2 separate regions of the Homo sapiens genome follow, and region 2 is linked to region 1. Evidence: promoter capture Hi-C in human tissues and cell types (Jung and others, 2019). All regions are on one chromosome and are shown on one strand. The core of a region is centred on a gene start or on the middle of the fragment in contact, and the rest is flanking DNA. Distances in the headings are between cores, read along the strand shown. Region 1 holds the start of NUDT13 (nudix hydrolase 13). Region 2 overlaps MCU (mitochondrial calcium uniporter).

Evidence for each region. The method cuts DNA at HindIII sites, captures the fragments that hold promoters and counts their contacts. A contact is called where the count stands out against the background at its distance.
Region 2: a contact is called between a fragment that was not itself captured here and the fragment with the promoter of NUDT13 in region 1, in 1 of the 25 tissues and cell types used here (dorsolateral prefrontal cortex).

What each region holds. Positions count from the first base shown.
Region 1 is chr10:73,108,380-73,112,820 of GRCh38, forward strand. It overlaps NUDT13 (nudix hydrolase 13), which reads left to right and starts at 2,076. Exons shown (of 9, transcript NM_015901.6): 1 at 2,076-2,188. The HindIII fragment of the contact is 13,958 bases long and covers 856-4,441 here.
Region 2 is chr10:72,699,081-72,703,517 of GRCh38, forward strand. All of the region lies in intron 1 of MCU (mitochondrial calcium uniporter), which reads left to right. Among named protein-coding and RNA genes, the nearest start is that of MCU, 9.2 kb to the left of the region's middle. RefSeq lists a silencer at 4,327-4,416. The HindIII fragment of the contact is 4,583 bases long and covers 1-4,149 here.

The sequences.
Region 1 (4,441 bases), core at 826-3,325:
GCCACCATGCCCGGCCTACTCTGATCTCATCTCTGATCACCATGCTCTTTCCTAGCCTTTCCTCAAACGGCACACTCCCACCCCAGGGCCTTTGCATATGCTTATTTTGCTCTGTCTACAAATCTCTTTCCATAGATATAAATTTGGTTTCTTCATCACCTTCTTCAGGGTCTTTGTTTAAATATTATCTTAACAATGAGGCTGACCATCCTATATAAAATAGCAAAATAATCCCTCTACTTATCTTGCTTTATTTTTCTTCTTAAGCTTTATAACCACGACACATTGTATATTTACTCGTTTGTTTCCCCTTCTAGAATGTAAGTTACATGAGGACAGAGATTTTCATGTTTTGTTCCCTGCTGTATCCTATCCCTATAACAGTCCTAGGCACATTGGGTACTCATTAAATACATGTTGAATGAGTGGACTTCTTCTCTTGGCTGGGTGCGGTGGCTCACGCCTGTAATCCCAGCACTTTGGAAGGCTGAGGCGAGTGGATCACTTGAGGTCAGAAGTTTAAGACAGCCTGGTCAACATGGCGAAACCCTGGCTTTACTAAAAATACAAAAATTAGCCAGGCATGGTGGTGTGCACCTGTTATCCCAGCTGCTCGGGAGGCTGAAGCAGGAGAATCACTTGACTCCGGAGGAGGAGGTTTCAGTAAGCCAAGATTGTACGTACCACTGCTCTCCAACCTGAGCGACAGAGCAACTCCATCTCAAAAAAAAAAAAAGTGTCTTCTCTCATAGGCAAGTAACTTCAGTAGTAAAACGAGAAGAGAGCAGCACCAAAGTAGCTCTGCTGAGAGGTGAAGCCAGCTGGACTTCCTGGGTGGAGTGGGGACTTGGTGAACTTTTCTGTCTAGTTAGAGAATTGTAAATGCACCAATCAGCACACTGTAAAAATGCACCAATCAGCACTCTGTGTCCAGCTAAAGGATTGTAAACACACCAATCAGCACTCTGTAAAAATGCACCAATCAGCGCTCTGTGTCTAGGTAAAGGATTGTAAACGCACCAATCAGCACTCTGTTTCCAGCTAAAGGATTGTAAACACACCAATCAGCACTCTGTAAAAATGCACCAATCAGTGCTCTGTGTCTAGCTAAAGGATTGTAAACACACCAATCAGCACTCTGTGTCTAGCTAAAGGATTGTAAATGCACCAATCAGCACTGTGTCTAGCTAAAGGATTGTAAACGCACCAATCAGCACTCTGTAAAAACGCACCAATCAGCACTCTGTGTCTAGCTAAAGGATTGTAAATGCACAAATCAGCACTCTGTCAAATGGACCAATCAGCACTCCATAAAATGGACCAATCAGTGCTCTGTAAAATGGACCATTCAGCAGGATGTGGGCAGGGACAAATAAGGGAATAAAAGCTGGCACCCCCAACAGCAGCGGCAACCTACTCGGGTCCCCTTCCACGCTGTGGAAGCTTTGTTCTCTCGCTCTTCACAATAAATCTTGCTGCTGCTCACTCTTTGGGTTCGTGCCACCTTTAAGAGCTATAACACTCACCGAAAGCTCCACGGCTTCATTCTTGAAGTCAGCAAGACCAAGAACCCACTGGAAGGAACCAACTCCGGACACACTTCTAGGAGACTACTTCCAGTCAAATGGAATGCGCTTCCTCTGATCAAGAAATGAATCCTACCATAAGTTCAAACATATCTATACATACCTATACAGAGTCCCATCCTTTTAAATTGGAAGAACTTCATGAAATTTTAGAGCTAGTTCTAAAGTGTGCAGAGAGAGAACTAGAGATATACTAAGGTTAAAAGGTATTTGATTCCCACCCCTGCTTCATCCTCTCCCCAGCCTCATAATATATGCCTTCTGTGTATGAGGGTGGACTTAATGACTTTATCTTTTTTTAATTAAAAAATGGATCTAATACTAACCTACTTTCTCCAAGGATACAGTAGTTCTCTTGGTAATAAGATCTTAGATGTTCATGCTTTTGACAATCATGGTTAACTTGCAGCTGGAGAACACAGCAGCATGCCTGGGAACTGAACTACAATTCCCAGAGTGCATCTCTAGGAGGATTCTGGGAAGTGTGGCAGAAGCAGCAATGGTCCCTCCAGGGAACGGAAGCCGTTGAACGTGAACATTTGGAGTTTCCTCTTTTGTGCTGATTCCTGAGGACTAGGAAGGTGCCCCGAAAAGAATTCAGAGTGAGTACAGTGAAACAGAAACCTGCTCAGCTTCTAAGTGCAGGAAGGACTTCACAGGGAGGCATGATCAGAACTTGAAAAAAGGTCGTGGTCACAGCATTTTAACATTTTAGCTTAATCTCTTCCTTTTTGCAGAAACCAGGGATATAACCATAGTTTTGCCTCATAACTGTGGAGCTACATCAGTAACCACAGCTCATCATTTTCTGATACTTTTTTGGAGAGTCATTTAAAAATGGAACTTGCCAACCTCTCACATTGTGCCTTAATTTTTATTTTTTTTTAAAGGAGGGAAAATTATTTTTTAGAAAGCAAACTATAAAGCAGGTCAGTGAGACCTTCAAAGCTGTATTCCCGTGGTTCCTCAGTTTTCCATATTTCCCTGTCCCATGGAGGTCCACAGTCGTGGAGAAACGGACTCTAAACACAGGCGAAGTATCACTTGGTCGCCCAGGCTGGAGTGCAGTGACACGATCTCCACTCACTGCAAGCTCCGCCTCCTGGGTTCATGCCATTCTCCTGCCTCATACTCCCTAGTAGCTGGGACTACAGGCGCCCGCCACCACGCCCAGCCACTTTTTTTTGTATTTTTAACAGAGACGGGGTTTCACCGTGTTAGCCAGGATGGTCTCGATCTCCTGACCTCGTGATCCGCCCACCTCGGCCTCCCAAAGTGCTGGGATTACAGACGTGAGCCACCGCGCCCGGCCTAAAAAAAGGTCTCTTAAATACTAGGGAACCTGGCCTCTTCACGGTGGAAGTAACCACTAGATTCAAGATGGGCTTTTTTTGTTTTGTCTTGTTTTGTTTTGTTTTTTTGTTTTGAGACGGAGTCTCGCTCTGTCGCCCAGGCTGGAGTGCAGTGGCGCGATCTCGGCTCACTACAAGATGGGCTTTTTTGTCACGCTGTAGTACTTTATAATCTTTCTTCTGGAAAGATGAACAGGATAAGAAACGTGTGAATCATTTGTGTTGGGGAGTTCAAAGAAACTCTTAATGTTAAAGCACCTTGCCTCATCATTTAGTAGTTGGGTAAGACTGCTATTACCTTTCATCTCTATCAAACATTGTACTTTTAAAAACATAAATAGCTCTGTGACCATCAGCTCATGAGTCAGCAGCCATGATAATCTACAACTGGCTAAGGTTAATTTAGTAGCAGAAACTAGGCAAAACATCAGGCAGCAGTTCCCAAGGTCCAAGAAACTCACCAAATGAATTCCCTTTGGCTCATGGAATATGGTGAGGTGTTTTGGGGAACAGTGGCATGGAGGTAGCCTCATTAACCAGTTAGTCTCAGGAACTACTATTTTATTAGGCTTTTCTTTTGTCTTAAAAGGAATAAGTACACATGGCTAATTTTTTTTTCAGTACAGAAAAATGAACAAAATAAAAATTACAGGCACCTTTTTCAATATTTGTCTTCATCCCACTCCCCCAAATTAGTCACTCTTTAATAGTTTGGTATGTATACTTCTAGTCATTTGAAAAATATAAATAAGGCCGGGGGCAGTGGCTCTTGCCTGTAATCCCAGCACTTTGGGAGACCCAGGCAGGCAGATCACCTGAGAACAGGAGTTCGAGACCAGCCTGACCAACATGGAGAAACCCCATCTCTACTAAAAAAAATACAAAATTAGCTAGGCGTGGTGGCGTATGCCTGTAATCCCAACTACTCGAGAGGCTGAGGCAGGAGAATCGCTTGAACCCGGGAGGTGGAGGTTGCGGTGAGCCGAGATTGCGCCATTGCACTCCAGCCCGGGCAACAAGAGCGAAACTCCGTCTCAAAAAAAAATAGAAAGAAAAATATAATTAAATACATATAATTTATGTATATTGGTATGTCTGTGTCCTTTTTTTTATAAATAATTAGGTCATGTTAACCAACTGTTACCTGTTTTTTTCTCCAGCTTTATTAAGGTATAATATTAAGGTATTAAAGTATAATATATACTTTTTGACAAAAAAAGTATATATTTATAGTTTACAATGTGATGTTTTGATACAGGTATACATTGTGAAATGATTAAATCTAGCAAATTAATATATTCATCACCTCACATTTTTTGTGTGTGTTGAGAATATTTAATATCTACTTTCTTAGTAATTTCCAAGTATATAATATATTATGAACTATAGTTACCATACAACACAATAGATATCCAGAATTTATTCATCCTAACTGAAACTTTGTACACTTTGACTAGTATCACCTCCAATTCCTCCTTGCTTTTTTTGTTTACTTAATAATGT
Region 2 (4,437 bases), core at 608-3,107, 410 kb before region 1:
GGGTGAGCCACCGTGCCCGGACTCTTTATTCTTTGATTAATGCCATACCATGGCTCATGGATATATTAGAATTACTAGGATAACATGTTAGGAAAACTAAGATGTTACTGTGGAAGTTGTGCACTTTAAAGAATCTTAAACGTTTGCCAGCCGTAGTGGCTCATGCCTGTAATCCCAGCACTTTGGGAGGCCGAGGCGGGCGGATCATGAGGTCAGGAGTTCGAGACCAGCCTGACTAATATGGTGAAACCCCGTCTCTACTAAAAATACAAAAAAATTAGCTGGGTGTGGTGGTGCGCGCCTGTAATCCCAACTACTCGGGAGGCTGAGGCAGGAGAATTGCTTGAATCCGGGAGACGGAGGTTGCAGTGAGCCGAGATCATGCCACTGCACTCCAGCCTGGGTGACAGAGCAACACTCCGTCCCGGAAAAAGGGAAAAAAAAGAACCTTAGTGATTAGAGTTCAGTAAGACCTTATATTGAGGAAACAAGAGTATGAGTGGTGAAATGGCTTTTTTTTTTTTTTTTATTGAGATGGAGTCACGCTGTCGTCCATGCTGGAGTGCAGTGGCGCTATCTCTGCTCTCTGCAGTCTCTGTCTCCTGGGTTCAAGTGATTCTGCTGCCCCAGCCTCCTGAGTGGCTGGGACTACAGGTGTGCGCCACCGCCCCCTGCCGATTTTTGTATTTTTAGTAGAGATGGGGTTTTGCCATGTTGGTTAGGCTGGTCTCGAACTACTGACCTCAGATGATCTGCGTGTCTTGGCCTCCCAAAGTACTGGGGTTACAGGTGTGAGCCACTGCGCCCGGCCGAAATGGTTTTTTTCTTAGTAGCTCAGCATCTTAATACAGAACTGGAAATGGGTCACGCATCTTCTCATTTTCCTATTCAATTCTTTTCCTACTAAATTACACAATTCTTTGTTTCATTTAAAACACTTAAGCTGAGAGTGGTTCTAAAAAGTGGATTGGGGTCAAATTTTTTTTTTTTTTTTTTGAGATGGAGTTTCGCTGTTGTTGCCCAGGCTGGAGTGCAATGGTGTGATCTCGGCTCACTACAGCCTCTGCCCCCAGAGTTCAAGCGATTCTCCTGTCTCAGCCTCCTGAGTAGCGGGGATTACAGGCACCTGCCACCATGCTGGGCTAATTTTTTGTATTTTTATTGGAGACAGGATTTCGCCATGTTGGCCAGGCTGGTCTTGAACTCCTGGCCTCAGGTGATCCCCCCACTTCAGCCTTGGAAAGTGTTGGGATTACAAGGCGTGAGCCACTGTGCCCGGCCAAATTCTTAAAGTACCTAACGTCAAAGTCAGTCTTGAATAATTACTCTCTAATTTAGATTAAGCTTGATAATAACTGTTAAAAAACCTTTCCTCTGTAGGTTGAACACAAAAGGAAAACAATGCATTTATTTCACTGCACTTTGTTAAATGCTTGCAGTTAGCTTGTGTAAAAATGAAAGTTGGCTTCAAGCAAATTAATTTTAATAAGTTTAGTGAATTATTGGTCCAAAAACTGTGTACACACTTGAATCTTTTATATTGATAAAAATATAACTTCATAAATTTTTTCACCAATTGGGTCTAAAGCATGCTAAAGGTGGAACTTTTTCTAATGCAGTTCTGGAATAATTTGATGATATGACATCGCATTTTGACATCTCAAAGATATGAGCCTTTTCCAAAGGTTCTTTAATGATGTTAATACTATTTATTAATCCAGAAGAGTGGGTATTAATTTTTATGCTTTGTTCCTGAAGTTTTCAGTTTTTATGTATTTTTTCTTGCTATTTATTTTCCACTTTATTGTTTAGGGAGTGTTTGTAATAATCATCAGAAAACTACTGAGGAGTCCATTAGGTGTTTGAGACTGTGTAGACGACAGTTAGAAATGTACAGTCCTGAAGTGTACTGCCTTGTAGGTATCAATATCATTTAAACTTCTTTTTTGTCTGCTGAGACACGCCTACTTTGTACCTCTTTTCTATGATAAGTAATGTAAGAGGATGTTTAAGAGCACTGTATTAATATCTGCTTTAAACTTTAGTTCAGAGAAAGTTAGTATGACTGATAAATTGTCAGATAATAAGAGAGCATATAGGTTAGCTTGAACCACTTGGTTTCTATAGATAGAGGAATAGATATAGAAGAAACCATCTAAGACCTGAGGACATTGTTACTTCATTTAATTTTTACTATAACCCTATGAGAGGTATTAACCCAGTTTTATAGATTTAAGTGTCATAAACTGGTTTAGTGCTAGGGATGCACTGAAAGGCAGGACGCATGTTTTGGATTTAAGCCTGAGTCTGGCTAGAGTGAGAACTGTACTGTTCTGGGTGTCAGTGTGGGTCATCCTTCCTTTTCCTTTCTGCTCCTTTAGCATGTTCTTCCTCAAGTATCTGCTGCTGTTTTCCTTCAAGAGATCTCGACATCCTTCCTACTGACTACATTTCTTGTTGTTTTGAGACGGAGTCTTACTCTGTCGCCCAGGCTGGAGTGCAGTGGTGCGATCTCGGCTCACTGCAAGCTCCGCCTCCCAGGTTCAAGTCATTCTCCTGCCTCATCCTCCCGAGTAGCTGGGACTACAGGTACACACCACCACGCCCGGCTAATTTTTTGTATTTTCTTCTTAGTAGAGATGGGGTTTCACCATGTTAGCCAGGATGGTCTCGATCTCCTGACCTCATGATCTTCCTGCCTCGGCCTCCCAAAATGCTGGGATTACAGGCGTGATCCACCGTGCCCGGCCCCCACTGACTACATTTCTTAAATTTCTTTCCTCACCCTCCCCTCCCGGTGTTAGCTGTTAGAGGTCTAAGATATGTGCTTCTTGGAGATATTCCTAATTTAGTTTGGATTTCTAAAATGTCCCACCCAGCCGGGCGCTGTGGCTCATGCCTGTAATCCCAGCCTTTTGGGATACTGAGATGGGGGAATCACCTGAGGTCAGGAGTTCAGGACCAGCCTGACCAACATAGTGAAACCCCATCTCTATTAAAAATACAAAAAAAATTAGCCAGTCATGGTTGGGGGGGAGGGGGGCGCCATAATTCCAGCCACTTGGGAGGCCGAGGCAGGAGAATTGCTGGAACCCAGGAGGCAGAGGTTGCAGTGACCCGAGATCGCACCACTGCACTCCAGCCTGGGCGACAGAGCAAAACTCTGTCTCAAAAAAAAAGAAAAAAAAAAGAAGAAGAAAAAGAAAAAAATAAGTCCCATCCAGTAAACCTGGTAATTACTGAGTTGCTTCTATACCAGATACTTTTATAACATTCTCTAGTGTACTCTACAACAGTCCTTCTGGCAAAATACTATTCCCATTGTACAGATGGAAAATGAAGACTTAGAAGGGTTTGGTAACCTGGAGACATTCAGAAAATATCTGTGGAACTCCTGCATTTTGTGAGGCACTGCCCAGGGCATTGGAGAGAGAGATGCCTTTGTGGTGGTCCTAAAAGAGTTCACAGTCTGGCCAGGAGACATTGTACAAACAGACTATAAATGGCTGTGCTTCTTTTTTTTCTAAAGAATGTTCAGCGGGAGCACTTGGGACCTACCTGTGAGAGCTGAGGAAGGCTTCACAGAAGAGGTCTTGCTTAAGAGGAAACATTTGGGGCCAGGTGCAGTGGCTACGCCTGTAATCCCAACGCTTTGGGAGGCTGAGGCGAGTGGATCACCTGAGGTCAGGAGCTCAAGACCAGCCTGGCCAACATGGTGAAACCCCATCCCTACTAAAAAAATACAAAAATTAGCTGGGTGTGGTGGTGTGCGCCTGTAATCCCAGCTACTCAGGAGGCTGAGGCAGGAGAATCACTTGAACCGGGAGGCAGAGGTTGCAGTGAGCTGACATGGTGCCATTGCACCCCAGCCTGGACAACAAGAACGAAACTGTGTCTCAAAAAAAGAAAAAAAAAAAAAAAGCAAACATTTGGAAATATAATGTGACTGGAAAAGTGTGGTCAGCATTCTGGGCAGCACCAATCTGACATGACCTCATGAGGGAGTAAGATGTATTTGAGAAGCAGCCACTGGTTTGTTACAACTGGAGTATGCGCAAGAATAGCTGGAGATTAGGCTGGACAATAGTAGTTATACCAATGATAATATTTTTCAAGTATATCATGTGCCAAGAATTTTACATAGATTATCTCATTTAATTCTTGTGATACACTATGACCCAGGTACTGTTTTTATCCTCATTTTATAGATAGTGAAACTAAGTTACCCACTGAGTTAAATGATTTGCCCAGAGTCACAGCTGTTAAGTGACACACAGTAAATGACTTAACCATGATCACACAGCTAGCAGATGTCACACCTAGCATATAAACCCCCAAACAGTGGCTTCAGATCCTGTCTCTTAACCACTGTTTCTGTGGTGAGGGATCAGACTATGAAGGGACTTCTGAAGAAATTGAAATTTTGTTCTGTAGGTC